Regions from separate parts of the Homo sapiens genome. Here regions 1, 3, 4 and 5 are each linked to region 2. The links are contacts of gene promoters, found by promoter capture Hi-C in blood cells and fetal thymus (Javierre and others, 2016). All regions are on one chromosome and are shown on one strand. Each heading gives the region's core, a stretch centred on a gene start or on the middle of the fragment in contact. The rest is flanking DNA. Distances are from core to core; before and after follow the strand shown.

Region 1 (2,700 bases), core at 137-2,636, 340 kb before region 2:
GGACTCTGCTATTTCCTCACTGTGGGAACTTGGGACTTTGTTTTCCTCATCTGTTATATAGGAATCATGATCATCTTCCCACTACATATATATATATATATATAATATTGATATATTTTATATATAGAATATTGATATATTATATATAGAATATTGATATATTATATATAGAATATTGATATATTATATATAGAATATTGATATATATTATTATATACAATAATGTATGACGTTAATATGTTATATACAATAATGTATGACGTTAATATGTTATATACAATAATGTATGACGTTAATATGTTATATACAATAATGTATGACGTTAATATGTTATATACAATAATGTATGACGTTAATATGTTATATACAATAATGTATGACGTTAATATGTTATATACAATAATGTATGACGTTAATATGTTATATACAATAATGTATGACGTTAATATGTTATATACAATAATGTATGACGTTAATATGTTATATACAATAATGTATGACGGTAATATGTTATATACAATAATGTATGACGTTAATGTTATATACAATAATGTATGACGTTAATATGTTATATACAATAATGTATGATGTTAATATGTTATATACAATAATGTATGTTAATATGTTATATACAATAATGTATAATGTTAATATGTTATATACAATAATGTATAATGTTAATATGTTATATACAATAATGTATAATATTAATATGTTATATATAATAATGTATAATATATAAGAATATATATTATATATATTTTTTGAGATGGAGTCTTGCTCTGTTATTCAGGCTGGAGTGCAGTGGCATGATCTGGGCTCACTGCAACCTCCGCCTCCCGGGTTCAAGCGATTCCCCTGCCTCAGCCTCCCAAGTAACTGGAATTACAGGCACCCGCCACCATGCCCAGCTAATTTTTGTATTTTTAGTAGAGACAGGGTTTCGCCATGTTGGCCAGGCTAGTCTCGAACTTCTGACCTCAGGTTATCTGCCCACCTTGGTCCCCCAAAGTGCTGGGATTATAGGCATGAGCCATATGCCTTGCCTTTTCCCATGATTAATGAGGCTGCTGCAAGTATCATTTGAAATTGTGTCTATGATGTGATCTGTAAGTTGTAAAGCATATAATAAATACAAGGTGGTCCTGAGTCTGGCCCTCATGTTCATGGTCATAGACATGGCCATTGCACAAATGTGTGTGCAAGATGCCCTAGAACTGTGTGTCAAAAGTAGAAAACCAGGGGGAAAGGTTGGGGGATTGGGAAGGTGATCATAGGAAAGGAGGCTGACTCCAAGAGGTTATCATCGGAGCCTGGGATCTTTTGTCACTTTTCCCATCCATCTCCCTATCTTGTGTTGCTCCAGATCTCTCCATACTGCAGGATAAAAACGGACAGTGCTGCCTGAAGCCTCCCTGACAACCTCCTGCTGTGTTGCTAAGCAACTTGACCTCCTCTTCCAAAAAAGGAACCTAATGCTCAAGGTCTGGCCTTCCAGCCTCCTTTAGTTACTTCCTTCTTCTCTGACCTCAAGGAAGGAAGGAATCTCAAGGAAAGAGCATCTCTGCCTCATGGAGGGAGAACTGGGTGTAGAATTGGAGGATTAGACTGGTGGGAAATGGGATGAACTTGCAAGGCGGGTCTTTGCTTCTGGGCTGATCAGTGTGGGGGATGACAGTTATAGAGCAGCTTTCTGTGCTGGACTCTCTAGGCACAGGCTCTGTCCTTGCAGCAAACCAACAAGGCAGGTATGATCAGTGTTGCCATTTTATGAGGTCACTGAGCCTCACAGAGAGTAAGCAGCCTTCTCAGTCTCACAGGGAATAGGCAGTGGATGAGTCTGAAGCCACGCCCTTCTGGGTTCCTTCTACTCCACCATGCTGTTCGAGATATTTGCAAGGGTCACTGTAGACCACAAGACTTCTAAAATGCATTTCTCACTTTGCTATTTGTCTGGAACCCCTGGTGAATGCTGGAATAGAGCACCTGGCTTGAGGTTGAGCTGGGGTTTGGGCATATAGTTCTGCTACTTCCTTGGCCTCTCAGAATCTCAGAATCTGCTCATTCTTCCAGTAGTGAAGATCAGAGAATAAGGGGTGGGGATAGAGTGAAAACTGGGCTGGCCGGGCTTGAAATGCATCTCTACCACTTGGCAGCTCTGCGATCCCATGCAAGTTATTTAACATTTTGTGCCTCAGTTTTCCTAATTTATAGAATGGGAATAACACTAGAGCCAACTCCAGAGGGTTGTAAGAATTAAATGAATGTAAAGCTCTTTGAATAGTGCCTGGCACATAAAGGTTCAATAAGTATCAGCCCTTATTATTATTACTTCTAGGAGGCTTGAGCATATAAACCTCTTTCACATCCTTAGTGGTTAAGAGAATTCACTGCCACTGAAATCAAACTAGGTCCGCATCCTGCACTGCCCTTTCTCACTGTGTGACTTTAGACGAGTTTCTTAATCCCTCTGTGGCTCAGTTTTCTAATCTATAAAGTGAAGAAAATAATAATGTGTACTTCAGGGTATTATTGTAAAGATCAAATATAATATGGGTATCAGTTATGGTAATGTTAGTTGCTGTAACAAGAAAACTTCCCACTTCCAAATTTCATGTAATAGTCTACATAGAATCATGGGAAGTAAGCATTACTATTATCTACATTTTAGAGGAGAAAACTAAGTGTCAGAATGGTGTA
Region 2 (2,700 bases), core at 28-2,527:
TAGAATTACTGCAGGAGAGGTTTTGGCCAAATTCTGAAAGAGGAATTTCCTTCCCAAATATGGAAAAGCATCCTATAATGGCCTGGAACTCAGAAGAGGTTCTAGCACACTTCCCCCGGTCGGGGGAAAGAGGGCATGGGTGGGGCTGGGGAGGGTGTCTCTTAGGCATCTCTCCTCGCGCTGTCCCGAGCCGCTGGCGCTGTCCGCGGTGCTGAAGCTCTGAGTCTGGCGCCGCCAAGGGCTGGCCTTGGAGGCGGTTACCAGAGAGGAAGGGGTCACAGAGCGAGGACTCTCCACTAGACCTGAGCCCTCTGTTGTATTCTGCCAACCCACAGCGTCACAGGAAGTACTCTGCCTCTCGGGCCTCCAAGCCCGGGTGGGGAAAGAGGGCGCCAGGCGGCGAGGCTGCGCCCCTTCCCCCACGCGCCACCCTCCCATCCCCCACCCCCTGTCCGTGAGTCAGCGCTGACTGTCTCTGTCCGCACAGATGTGAGTCAGCACCAGGCCTGGCTGTGGGGAGGGGGACAAGAGAGGACCCTCCCCTCTTCATCCTCTTCTGCCCCCTCCCCGTGCTGTCCCCCGTTACAGGAGATCAGATCGCTGCAATCAGCTTCTCTAGGCTTACGGAGAAACCCTGGCCTCTCTCTCTGCCCAGCTGGGACTCTATGTCTGCGGCCCAGGCTTCCACTGCCCAGAGATCACCGTTCCCTCATTCTCCCCGCCACCTCCCCTTCCCATTCCTCAGCGCCTGTCACCACCTCCCAGGCGCCTCGGAGCAAGTGGCTTCTCCTGTGGTCTCGCAGCCGGTCTCTAAGTCCCTCTGCCCACATGCACCCCGTGTCCTTCTCCCGAACCTGCAATTTTCCCCAGAGCCCAATTCTCTTAGGTCCCGCCCCCGTATTCCCAGCCCCACCTCCAGGCCTACGCCCCTTTCCTCCGAGACGCCCTCTCACCTTCCTCATCTCGCATGCCTCCCCCAACCCATATTCTCCCCGAGCTTCATGACATTTCACCCTCACCCCCACCGAGTTTCGCTCCAGGCCCCAAGCTGCTCCCCGCCCCCCACCACCCGCCAGCCCAAGTTTCCTCCTGACCGTGGGCACTAACGGCGCTGCAGCCCCCCGGGCGGCTGCTCAGCAGCAGGAGGCAGAGGAGCAGCCGGAGACCCCCGGATCCCCCGAGACCCCCAGGCCGCCGCGGGCGCCGCATCTTTCCGAGCTCCGGGCGCTCGCTCCCGGGCCGGAGCCGCAGCGACGCTGGCGGGAGCCTGCCAGAGGGGCTGAGGCGGGGCTTGCCGCTCCCCACCTCCCTACGAGGCGGGGTCTACATGCCCCTCTCGCTGCAACGCGGCCAACCGCAGGCGGGTGCTGACGACACCTCCACCCCCGGCTCGTAAGCTAATTTGCGTCACATATGGCGTAAGAGCCCTGTCGGAGCGGGGGACCTACCTAGCCCATCCCTCCTCCATCAAATAGTAGGCGCCTCGCTAGAATTCCCACTTGGCCCCATCCCTGTAGCCCTCTTCTAGGATCACCTCTGTCTCCCCGCCCCAGGGTGGGTGAAAAGGGTTAAGTTAAGTGGGGGGCCAGGAAAGATAGGTGGGTCCAGAACGATAAACCCGAAGACAAGAAGCAGAAAAGTGGGTAGAATAAGTACTCTTACTCATTGTCATTGAAGATACTGTTCTCTTCCTTAAGAAAAAATGGTTAGGCATGCCTAGATTCCAGTTCTAGCAGGGCATCTACTAAGGGTATGACCTTGGGCACCTTGTTTAACTTGTCTGCGTCCAAGTTTCCTGATCTGCAAAGTGGAGGTGTTAATAGTTACTACCCGCCTCACACAGTGATTGTGAAGATTTTGTTCGTTACACTAATATGGATCACTTAGAAGGATGACTGGACTGGTGCATACTACATGCTCCATACATATTAGCTGTCATCATTAGCTTTTATTTATTTTTTATTGAGATGGAGTCTTGCTCTGTTGGCCAGGCTGGATACTGGCGTGATCTTGGCTCACTGCAATGTCCACCTTCTGGGTTCAAGCCATTCTCCTGCCTCAGCCTCCCTAGTAGCTGGAATTACAGGCGCACAGCACCTTGCCCGGCTAATTTTTGCATTTTTATTGGAGATGGGATTTCACCTTGTTGGCCAGGATGGTCTTGAACTCTTGACCTCAGGTGATCCAACGGCCTTCGCCTCCCAAAATGCTGGGATTACAGGTGTGAGCTACCGGGCCTGGCCTCATCATTAGCTTTGACTCTCCTTTCTCTCCGTCTGTGCCACCTCGAGGCTATCAATCATTTTATGGTTTCTCCCTGCAAAATACATCTCCCATCAGTCCACTTCTGTCCATCCTCACTACCTGAACTGAAACACTGTGCTCTTTCACCACGACCACTGCAGCAATCAGCTAGTAACTGCTCTTTTGCTTCCACTCTAGTCATCCAATAAGTAGGGGAGTGAGCTTCTTAAGTTCAGATTTGATCTCCTTCCTCTCTTGCTTTCCAGTAAAATAAAATAAAATTTAAAAAGGACAGAAATGCATAATGAATACTTACATACTCATCATCCATACTTAATGGTTATTGATGTTTTACAATATTTGCTTCTTTTTAGTATTTAAACATGAATGATAGACATCATGACATTTCTCTTCTAAATATTTCATTATGCATCTCCAAGAAATAAGGACATTTTC
Region 3 (2,700 bases), core at 149-2,648, 400 kb before region 2:
TGAATAAATAAATAAATGTCTACAGAAATCACTACTAACTTCTGTCTTCAGGCCCAAACTTCCTTCCTATGATCTTTCTTTTTTTTTCTTTTGAGACAGAGTCTCGCTCTGTCACCCAAGCTGGAATGCAGTGGTGTGATTTCAGCTTACTGCAACCTCTGCCTCCTGGGTTCAAGCAATTCTCCTGCCTTAGCCTCCTGAGTAGCTGGTATTACAGGTGTGCACCACCATGCCGGGCTAATTTTTGTATTTTAGTAGAGACAGGGTTTCGCCATGTTGGCCAGGCAGGTCTTGAATTCCTGACCTCAGGTGATCCACCCATCTTGGCCTCCCAAAGTGCTGGGATTACAGGTGTGAGCCACCACACCTGGTCTCCTGTGATCTTTCTTGAAGTTCCAGCTGCCAGCTAGACATGTTTTAATGTATGCCTGTGATACCACCCACTCAAGCTTTATTTTATTTTATTTTATTTTTGAGACAGAGTCCTGCTCTGTCACCCAGGCTGGAGTGCAATGGCGCCATCTCAGCTCACAGCAACCTCTGACTCCTCTGCCTCCCAGGTTCAAGCAATTCTCCTGCATCAGCCTCCTGAGTGGCTGGGATTACAGGTGGCCTGCCACCACGCCCAGCTCATTTTTTGTATTTTTAGTAGAGATGGGGTTTCACTATGTTGGCCAGGCTGGTCTTGAACTTCTGACCCCAAGTGATCCACCTACCTCAGCCTCCCAAAGTGCTGGGATTACAGGCGTGAGCCACCATGCCCGGCTCAAGCTTTATTAATGCAGATTCATTATCTTATGTATGTATTTGCTAAGGGCTGAGACTTTGTTTTGTTTACTGTTCTTTTCTCAATGCCTAGCACAGTGCTTGGCATAGACCAGGCATTTAATATTTGTTGAATAAGTGAATGAATGACTTTCCCCTCCAAACCAGTTCTCCTTAACTTGCTTGTTTCTCTTTGTCACATCATCATTTTCTTAGTCACTGAACCTCAAAACTGGTGTAAACTTGGACTCTCACCTTCTCTTCTCCTTTCTATATTCAATCAGTGGCCAAGATCTGCTTATTCTTCCACTTCATTCACATGGTCAATATCCTAGTTCACCACACACCTCAAACATCACAACGACCTTCCAACTAGCCTCTGTCATTCCTCTTTCTTCCTCTTCAATCCATCCCTATCCTATTGTTCTGTTTTTCTCTCCCACGAAGTGCTCTGATCATGTCATTTCCTCTGACTAAAGCTCTCAATGGATCTTTGTACCAATTTGGGTTCTTAATTGCAAACAACAGAAACAGACTCTGGTTCACTTAGTAGAAGAGGAATTTACTGGGATGACATCAGGGAACTCAAAGAATTGACAGGAAGCCTCAAGAATCAGGCTCAGGAAGCAAGCAGGAGCCAAGAGAAGCTAGGCAGCTAGAACTTTAGCTAAATCCTGTCCCAAGTGCAGCCTGATTAAGGGGCTTGGGGGCTGCTTCCCACATGGCTACCACCACCCTGAGCACTTGCTGCTGCCACCTCTGGGATGAATTATAAACAGTCCTCTTCCTCCTTGGGTCACTTGTTGAAGATTTAGAGTCCTGACTGGGAGCATTGATTTGGCTGTGATCTTCCTGCTAGGGGCCAGGTGAGCAAGTATCTGACTTCTCACTAAGACTCACATTAGGGAGGCTCCACCAACATATGAAGGGGGCTCAGATGCTGGGCAGCTAAAGACTCCAGTGTGTATCCATATGCAGGTTCCTGAGCATTGAAGCCCTCCACCATATGCCACAAACGATCATCTCCAGTTTTTTCTCACTTCCACACCATGTTCCACTGAAGCATGACTGTGTGCAGTTCCCTGAGCAGTCCTTTCCTGCCTCAGCCCCTGTAATAGCTGGGCCCCAAAGGTGGTCCGCCTTGAATCATGCTTCACACCTGTGTATTGTCCCCTCCCCTTGAAAGGGCCAGTCCATGCTTCCTTTTCACTGAGTGTGCTGTGGAAGCGAAGCTGCATGACTGCTGAAGAGAGGGAATAGGAAGCTTTGCAGTTTTTGCCTCAGTCGCTCGGAATGTTCACTCTGGGGCAAGCCAATCACCGTGTATGAGGTCTGTCTACCCAGAGACTACCATGCTATGAGGAACCCGAAACAAGCCACATGGGAAGGCTGTATAGAGAGAGTAATGCCTGGGCAGGCCCCTTCAGTTCCAGCCAATTCAGATGAGGTGCCAGACATGTGACTTTAAAAAGTCATCTTGGGGCTGGGCTCAGTGGTTCACACCTGTAATCTCAGCACTTTGGGAGGCCGAGGCAGGCGGATAACTTGAGGCCAGGAGTTCAAGACCATCCTGGCCAACATGGCGAAACCCCATCTCTACTAAAAATACAAAAAATTAGCCAGACATAGTGGCACATGCCTGTAGTCCCAGCTTCTCGGGAGGCTGAGGCATGAGAATCACTTGAACCTGGGAGGTGGAGGTTGCAGTGAGTGAGATTGCGCCACTACAGTCCAGCCTGGGTGACGAAGTGAGGCTGTGTCTTCAAAAATAAATAAATAAATAAATAAATTTTTAAAAAGTCATCTTGGATATCCAGCCGAGTTGAGCCTTCAGATGACTCCAGCCTTAGCCACCATCTAACTGAACTGCTTGAGAGACCCCACGTGAGAACTGCCCAGCTGACTGTAGTCAACCCACAGGACTGTGGGATGTAA
Region 4 (2,700 bases), core at 187-2,686, 310 kb before region 2:
ATAGGGGCACTAGAGCGGGTGGTGGTGGAGGGGACAATCCAGCACCTCTAGGAACATGCAGTTTGGAGGGACTTCTGACCCTGGTTCCCATCTCCCGGGGCTGCCTCTGCCTGAGCTGAGGGCCACCTACCTACCCCACCCCAGCTGATGGAAGCGAGGATGTGGGATTCTGAGGTTTGAGGAAGGTGGTGAACCGCTGTGCCTGGGGGCTTGTCCTTTTCAGTCAGTCTGACTGTCTCAGACGTTTTTAGACTGAAAGAGGGACCAAGGGAGTGTCAGGGAGTGACATCTCAGGATGTCAGCAGCACCACAGAGATCCGAGGAGTGGATTTGAGGCTCCATGGTGGCCCTCAGCTTCCCCCGCCCAGATTTTCCACACCTCAGCCTTGGCTCCAACTCCGTGAGGGCCTGCATCTTCCCCAGCATGACCAGGAGCCCAGGAACCGGGACAGGAGGCTGGGGAGGGCCTAGCCCCTGCGGGAGGCCAGACCAACCGTTCACTGAGCAAATGGGAAAACCAAGAGGCCGGGAAATGACTTGCCCAAGGCCATAGAAGTCGCGGGGACAGAGGCGGACTAGAATCCGGGTTTCCACCTCCAGAAGGGTTTCTGTTCTGGGCCACGGCCCCCTTCGCCACCCGCTGGAGCCGGCTCAGCCCGTATTACGACGCAGAATGGAGCCTGGCAGCCCAGAAGCTGCGGGCAGGGCAAGGCAGGGCGGGTGGGGCCGGATGGGAGCCGGATCTCCCCTGGAGCGGCGCACAGCCTCTCCCACCCGTACGGTTGAGATGGCGGTGGCGGTGGCGGCGGCAGGTGCCTGCGTGGCGATCAGGCCGGCCCCCGGGCTGGTGCTGAGAGGCCGCCCCTGCCTCACGCGAGCCGAACGAACAAAACGCTCAGGTCCGGTTTGTGCGAGGGGCTCGTCGCGGGGCGGGAGCGGAGGGCCCGGGGCCTGGCGGTCGCCCTCGGTGATCTCCTGGTCCTGGTCTTCCGCGAGCTCAGTGCTGCACAGCGCCCCGCTAGCCTCCGCCCTCACCTGAACGCATCTGCGGCTGACACGTCGGCGGCCGCGGCGGCCACCGCAGGTGCGCACCTGGCCCGCCCCTCCTTTCCCAGCCACCCTCCGCCCGGCTTTCCTGGCCCCTCCGCCCGGCCCAGCCTAGCTTGGCTTCGTCCCCAGCCCACGCCTTGGAGCTTGTCCCGGAGCCCGGGCTCCGTGTGCTCTTATACTGCCTGTTCAGTCCCCGCCCCCAGACACACACACTCACACCTGTCCAGGCGCCCGTTTGCTCGGGGCAAATATTGACTCATGGAGGCGGAGCGCTCCCCCCTCCCCCGCCCGGGCTCTGAGACCGGAGCTTCTCCGAGGCCTTGGTGGCGGGGGCGGAGGGGAGGGTGCTGGGGACCCTGGGCGCCTCTGGAACAACACCAGATGTCACTTTTCCACCCACCTGCCTCTGGGAGGGAGGAGCCGAGAAGCAGAGGACAGAAGCTCCCGGGCGGGGGTTAGGAGGAACCGAGAGGTGGGTATCCATCCTCGTCTGAGGACTGATTCACAGTGGGAGTCGCTTAGCAGGGTCTGTGGCCCGAAATCCAGTGGTGACCTCGACCCGCCCCAGCCTAGTTCCTGGCCCTCCGCGGCGTGCCTCAGTTCTTCCTCCCCAGCCTCTTGGGCACTCGGAGCTCGGCAAATGCTAAGGGGCTGGCCCTGGGGGTGCTAAGCCTCCGAGCAGGCGCGGCGCGGAAAGGTGAGGGGTGGCCGCCCTGCCCAGTGGACACCTGCTTCGCTGGCCAGGCCTGGCACTCAGTTACTGTGCACCAAGGTGCGCTGGGGCAAAGGCCAGCCAGGCCCCGTCCGGAGCGCCCTCCACTGGCCAGACCCGGTCCAGCGGCCGGCAGCTAGCGGCCAGGTCTCAGTCCAGCTGCAGTGTGGGCGGAGAGGTGCATCCTCCCGGGCCCTAAGTTCCCGCCGCGCCTCTGCAGTCCGCCCGGGCTGCTCCCTGCCATCCTTCCCTCTCAGAGCTCGCGCGCGCGTTCCCCCTCGTCGGGGAAATAAAGTCAAGGTAGATACAGAAAAAAGACTAGATGCTTTTACTGGCGGTGGAGAGGGGGCCAGGCGTGACCCCTAGCGGCATGTCGGAGAGGCTGGGCGCGGGCATTTACGGAAGGTCGGTAGGAAGTGGCACCACCGGGTGGAGTACCTCTGCTTGCTGCGTCGGCAGCAGCGTGTCCGGGGTCAGACTCCTGGAAGACAAAAAGTCCCAGGTAGGCGTGGGGGCGAGGCTTCGGGCAGAGCCTGGCTGCCCCCGTGGCCCCTCTCGCGCGGTCTGCGCGGCCGCTGGTCCCGGCGCCCTTACCTGGGCACGCAGAACGGCGGCAGGGCGATGACGCGTGGCCGCGAGGTGAGTACCACCTCCCCGCGGCTCGCCTCCACCAGGATGTTCTGGATCATGTTCTCCAGCAGCGCCTCCTGCAGGTTGGCGAAGGCCGGGAGCCTGCGAGGGGGCGGGGGCTAGCATGAGGGCGGCCGCAGTGCCCGCGCGCCTCCTCGCTCGCCTGTCCGTGCGGTACATTGTGCCGCGAGCTCTACGGAGATTCCCATTCGACTCCCCTCATCCACTACACTATGGGGCATTCTTGTTTCAATGTTACGGACGTTCCAAGTGTGGCTAAAAGATTCCAAGTTGCCAAATATGCTGCT
Region 5 (2,700 bases), core at 131-2,630, 380 kb before region 2:
TCAGTGGTCTCTGAAATGCCCAGGAGACATTTTCCCCATTGTCTTGGCTATTTAACTCTTCTTTACTTATGCAAACTTCTGCAGCAGGCTTGAATTTCTCCCCAGAAAATGGATTTTTCTTTTCTACCACATGGCCAGGCTGCAAATTTTCTAAACTTATATGCTGTACTTCCCTTTTAAATGTAAGTTCCAGTTTCAGATCATCTCTTTGTTCATGCATATGAGCATACACTTTTAGAAACAGCCAGTTTACCTCCTGAATGCTTTGCTGCTTAGAAATTTCTTCCAGCAGATACCCTAAATCATCTCTCTCAAGTTCAAAGTTCCACAGATCTCTAGGGCAGGGGAAAAAATGCTACCAGTATCTTTGCTAAAGCATAGCAAGAGTGACCTTTACTCTAGTTCTCAATAAGTTCCTCATCTCCATCTGAGACCACTTGAGTCTGGACTTCATTGTCCATATCACTATCAGCATTCTCATCAAAACAATTCAACAAATCTTCATGAAGTTCCAAACTTTCCCACGTCTTCCTGTCTTCTTCTGAGCTTTCCGAACTGTTCCAACCTCTGCCTGTTACCCAGTTCCAAAGTTGCTTCCACATTTTCAGATATCTTTATAGCTGTTATAAATAATTTTCTGTATAGTCCATTTTCACACTGCTATAAAGAGCTGCCTGAGACTGAGTAATTTGTGAAGAAAAGAGGTTTAATTCACTCACAGTTCTGCAGGCTTAACAGGAAGCATGGCTGGAAAGCCTCAGGAAACTTACAATCATGGCAGAACTTAAAGGGGAAGCAAGCGTGTCTTACCATGGCAGAGCAGGAGAGAGAAAGAGTGAAGGGGAAGTGCCACACACTTTCAAACAACCAGATCGCATGAGAATTCACTCACAGTCAAGAACAGCAATGGGGAAGTCCATGCCCATGATTCAATCACCTCTCACCAGACCCCTCCCCTGACATGTGGGGATTAAAATTCAAGATGAGATTTGGGTGGGGATGCAGAGCCAAACCATATCACATGGTCAACACAAGCTTCTTGGTGATGCCCCAAACTTCAGAACCAGTTAAAGGTTTACCATCAGCCAGAAGAGCTGTGGGAATGAGCCTCCCAGAAAGAAGAGATGGAAGGTGTTTGGCATCTGCAGTGATGATGATGATGATGATCATGATCATGATCATGATGCTGGCTAAATGCCGACTCTGAGCCCTGCATGATGGTAAGCAGTGTCTATGGATTGGCTCTTTAATCCTCATAACAATGTCTATCTAATGTCTATCTAGAGGTAGATATTAAGATAATGCCTATTTTTCAAATGAAGAAACTGAGCCTCCAAGAGATTAAGTAACTGGCTCAAGGTCACACAGTTGGTAAATTGAAACATGAGTGCTTACATGGATGTTTTCCAGGGATTGAGGCCGCATTAACTGGTGGGGAGAGAAATGAAGAGCCCAGCACAAGGGGTGGACTGATGGGAGCATGTTTGGGCTAGTGGGAATAATAATAAAAAATAATAGTCAGCACTTATTGAATGCTTACTAAGTGGCTGGCATTGTTCTAAGCACTTTTACATGCATTAACTCGAGGTGAAATAAAACCCAAATACACAGAACTGGCAAATGAGGGTCCATGCTTGAGGGTTTGGAAAGACTTGGAAATACCCTTTGGGCACATCAAGCAGGCAAAAAAAAAAAAAAAAAAAAAAAAAAATCAGCTGCATTTTGGAAGCTTCCTCTGATCAAAGATACCCATTCATCCAACATTTATTTATGAAATGCCTGTTGTTTCCCAGGCATTGTTCTAGGCACTGAGAACAGGACAGATTCCAGGAGAAGGAGAAGTCCAGGAACACAAAAAGATAGAAAGAAATACTCAGAAGTGCCATATTTTTTACCTTTTCATTGATACTACCAGAAAAGGGAAAAAATAAATACTGTTTGATTTTGCCACCAGGCACCACAAAACTGCGCCCCTGCCTGATTTCATTTCAGCAAGCTTTACTGTGAAGTGTTTATGTGCCAGGTACCATGTGTAGAAGCGCTGGCCCAGAGATGAAGATGAAGTTTCTATCCTTAAGGCATGCAATGTGGGAGATGAACAGGTAAGTGGATAATTACATTACAAGTGATTCGTGCCATGATTGAGGTGTGAACAAAATTCCACGGGAGCAAAGAAGAGTGGCTAATTCTGCCTAGGGGTGTCAGATAATGTTTAATGGAGGAAGGGGGCATCTCAACTGGGCCTGAGGGAGGACTAGGAGATTGCCAGGTGGAGATGGGGAGAAAAGACCTCTAGAGAGGAGTAGTTTGTGGACAGAATGATCTAATTGCAGATACTAAGTTCTGAAATGTGGACTGTGCATGGACAGCCTAGTACCCTGACAATTGTGAGGGCAGGGGAGTCCACAGAGATTACTAATTTATTGAAAAAGCACTGAGGCTTGTGTTGGTGCCAGCTAAAAAGACTGAGTTGATAAACAACCCATCTTTGTTTCTCTATGCAGAAATCACCCAGACACCTGCCATATTTTTTCTAGCCTATGTTTAAGTTAAGGTGTCAAAAAGACTTGAAGTGCTCCTGTACACATTTGGGGAGGGGAGTATATTGGTACAACCCCTGTGGAAGGCAGATTGGCAACATCTGCCAGAATTACAAAGGCATATAGCTTGTGACCCAGCAAGTTCACTTCTAGGAATTTA

The links. The method cuts DNA at HindIII sites, captures the fragments that hold promoters and counts their contacts. A CHiCAGO score of 5 or more calls a contact.
Region 1: a fragment that was not itself captured here is called in contact with the fragment with the promoter of PTPRN in region 2 in 2 of 17 cell types (M2 macrophages and neutrophils); the score reaches 7.0 in M2 macrophages.
Region 3: a fragment that was not itself captured here is called in contact with the fragment with the promoter of PTPRN in region 2 in 1 of 17 cell types (M2 macrophages); the score reaches 6.1 in M2 macrophages.
Region 4: the fragment with the promoter of CFAP65-AS1 here is called in contact with the fragment with the promoter of PTPRN in region 2 in 4 of 17 cell types (erythroblasts, M2 macrophages, M0 macrophages and 1 more); the score reaches 7.4 in erythroblasts.
Region 5: a contact is called between a fragment that was not itself captured here and the fragment with the promoter of PTPRN in region 2, in 2 of 17 cell types (M0 macrophages and M2 macrophages). The highest score is 6.6, in M0 macrophages.

The regions. Positions count from the first base shown.
Region 1 is chr2:218,971,485-218,974,184 of GRCh38, forward strand. No RefSeq gene overlaps it. Among named protein-coding and RNA genes, the nearest start is that of LINC00608, 3.4 kb to the right of the region's middle. The HindIII fragment of the contact is 5,553 bases long and covers 1-2,700 here.
Region 2 is chr2:219,308,124-219,310,823 of GRCh38, forward strand. PTPRN (protein tyrosine phosphatase receptor type N) reads right to left here and starts at 1,278. Exons shown (of 23, transcript NM_002846.4): 1 at 1,095-1,278. The coding sequence starts at 1,209. The HindIII fragment of the contact is 26,349 bases long and covers 1-2,700 here.
Region 3 is chr2:218,903,149-218,905,848 of GRCh38, forward strand. The region is part of intron 4 of LINC01494 (long intergenic non-protein coding RNA 1494); the gene reads right to left. Among named protein-coding and RNA genes, the nearest start is that of WNT10A, 24 kb to the left of the region's middle. The HindIII fragment of the contact is 1,258 bases long and covers 770-2,027 here.
Region 4 is chr2:219,000,779-219,003,478 of GRCh38, forward strand. It overlaps CFAP65-AS1 (CFAP65 antisense RNA 1), which reads left to right and starts at 1,437. Exons shown (of 3, transcript NR_046086.1): 1 at 1,437-1,522. CFAP65 (cilia and flagella associated protein 65) reads right to left here. Exons shown (of 35, transcript NM_194302.4): 34 at 2,357-2,494; 35 at 2,068-2,243. The coding sequence ends at 2,159. It overlaps MIR375 (microRNA 375), which reads right to left and starts at 930; the gene lies at 867-930. RefSeq lists an enhancer at 1,209-1,503. The HindIII fragment of the contact is 13,795 bases long and covers 1-2,700 here.
Region 5 is chr2:218,924,102-218,926,801 of GRCh38, forward strand. All of the region lies in intron 2 of LINC01494 (long intergenic non-protein coding RNA 1494), which reads right to left. It overlaps LOC124907984 (a long non-coding RNA gene), which reads left to right and starts at 791. Exons shown (of 2, transcript XR_007088091.1): 1 at 791-2,102. The HindIII fragment of the contact is 694 bases long and covers 1,034-1,727 here.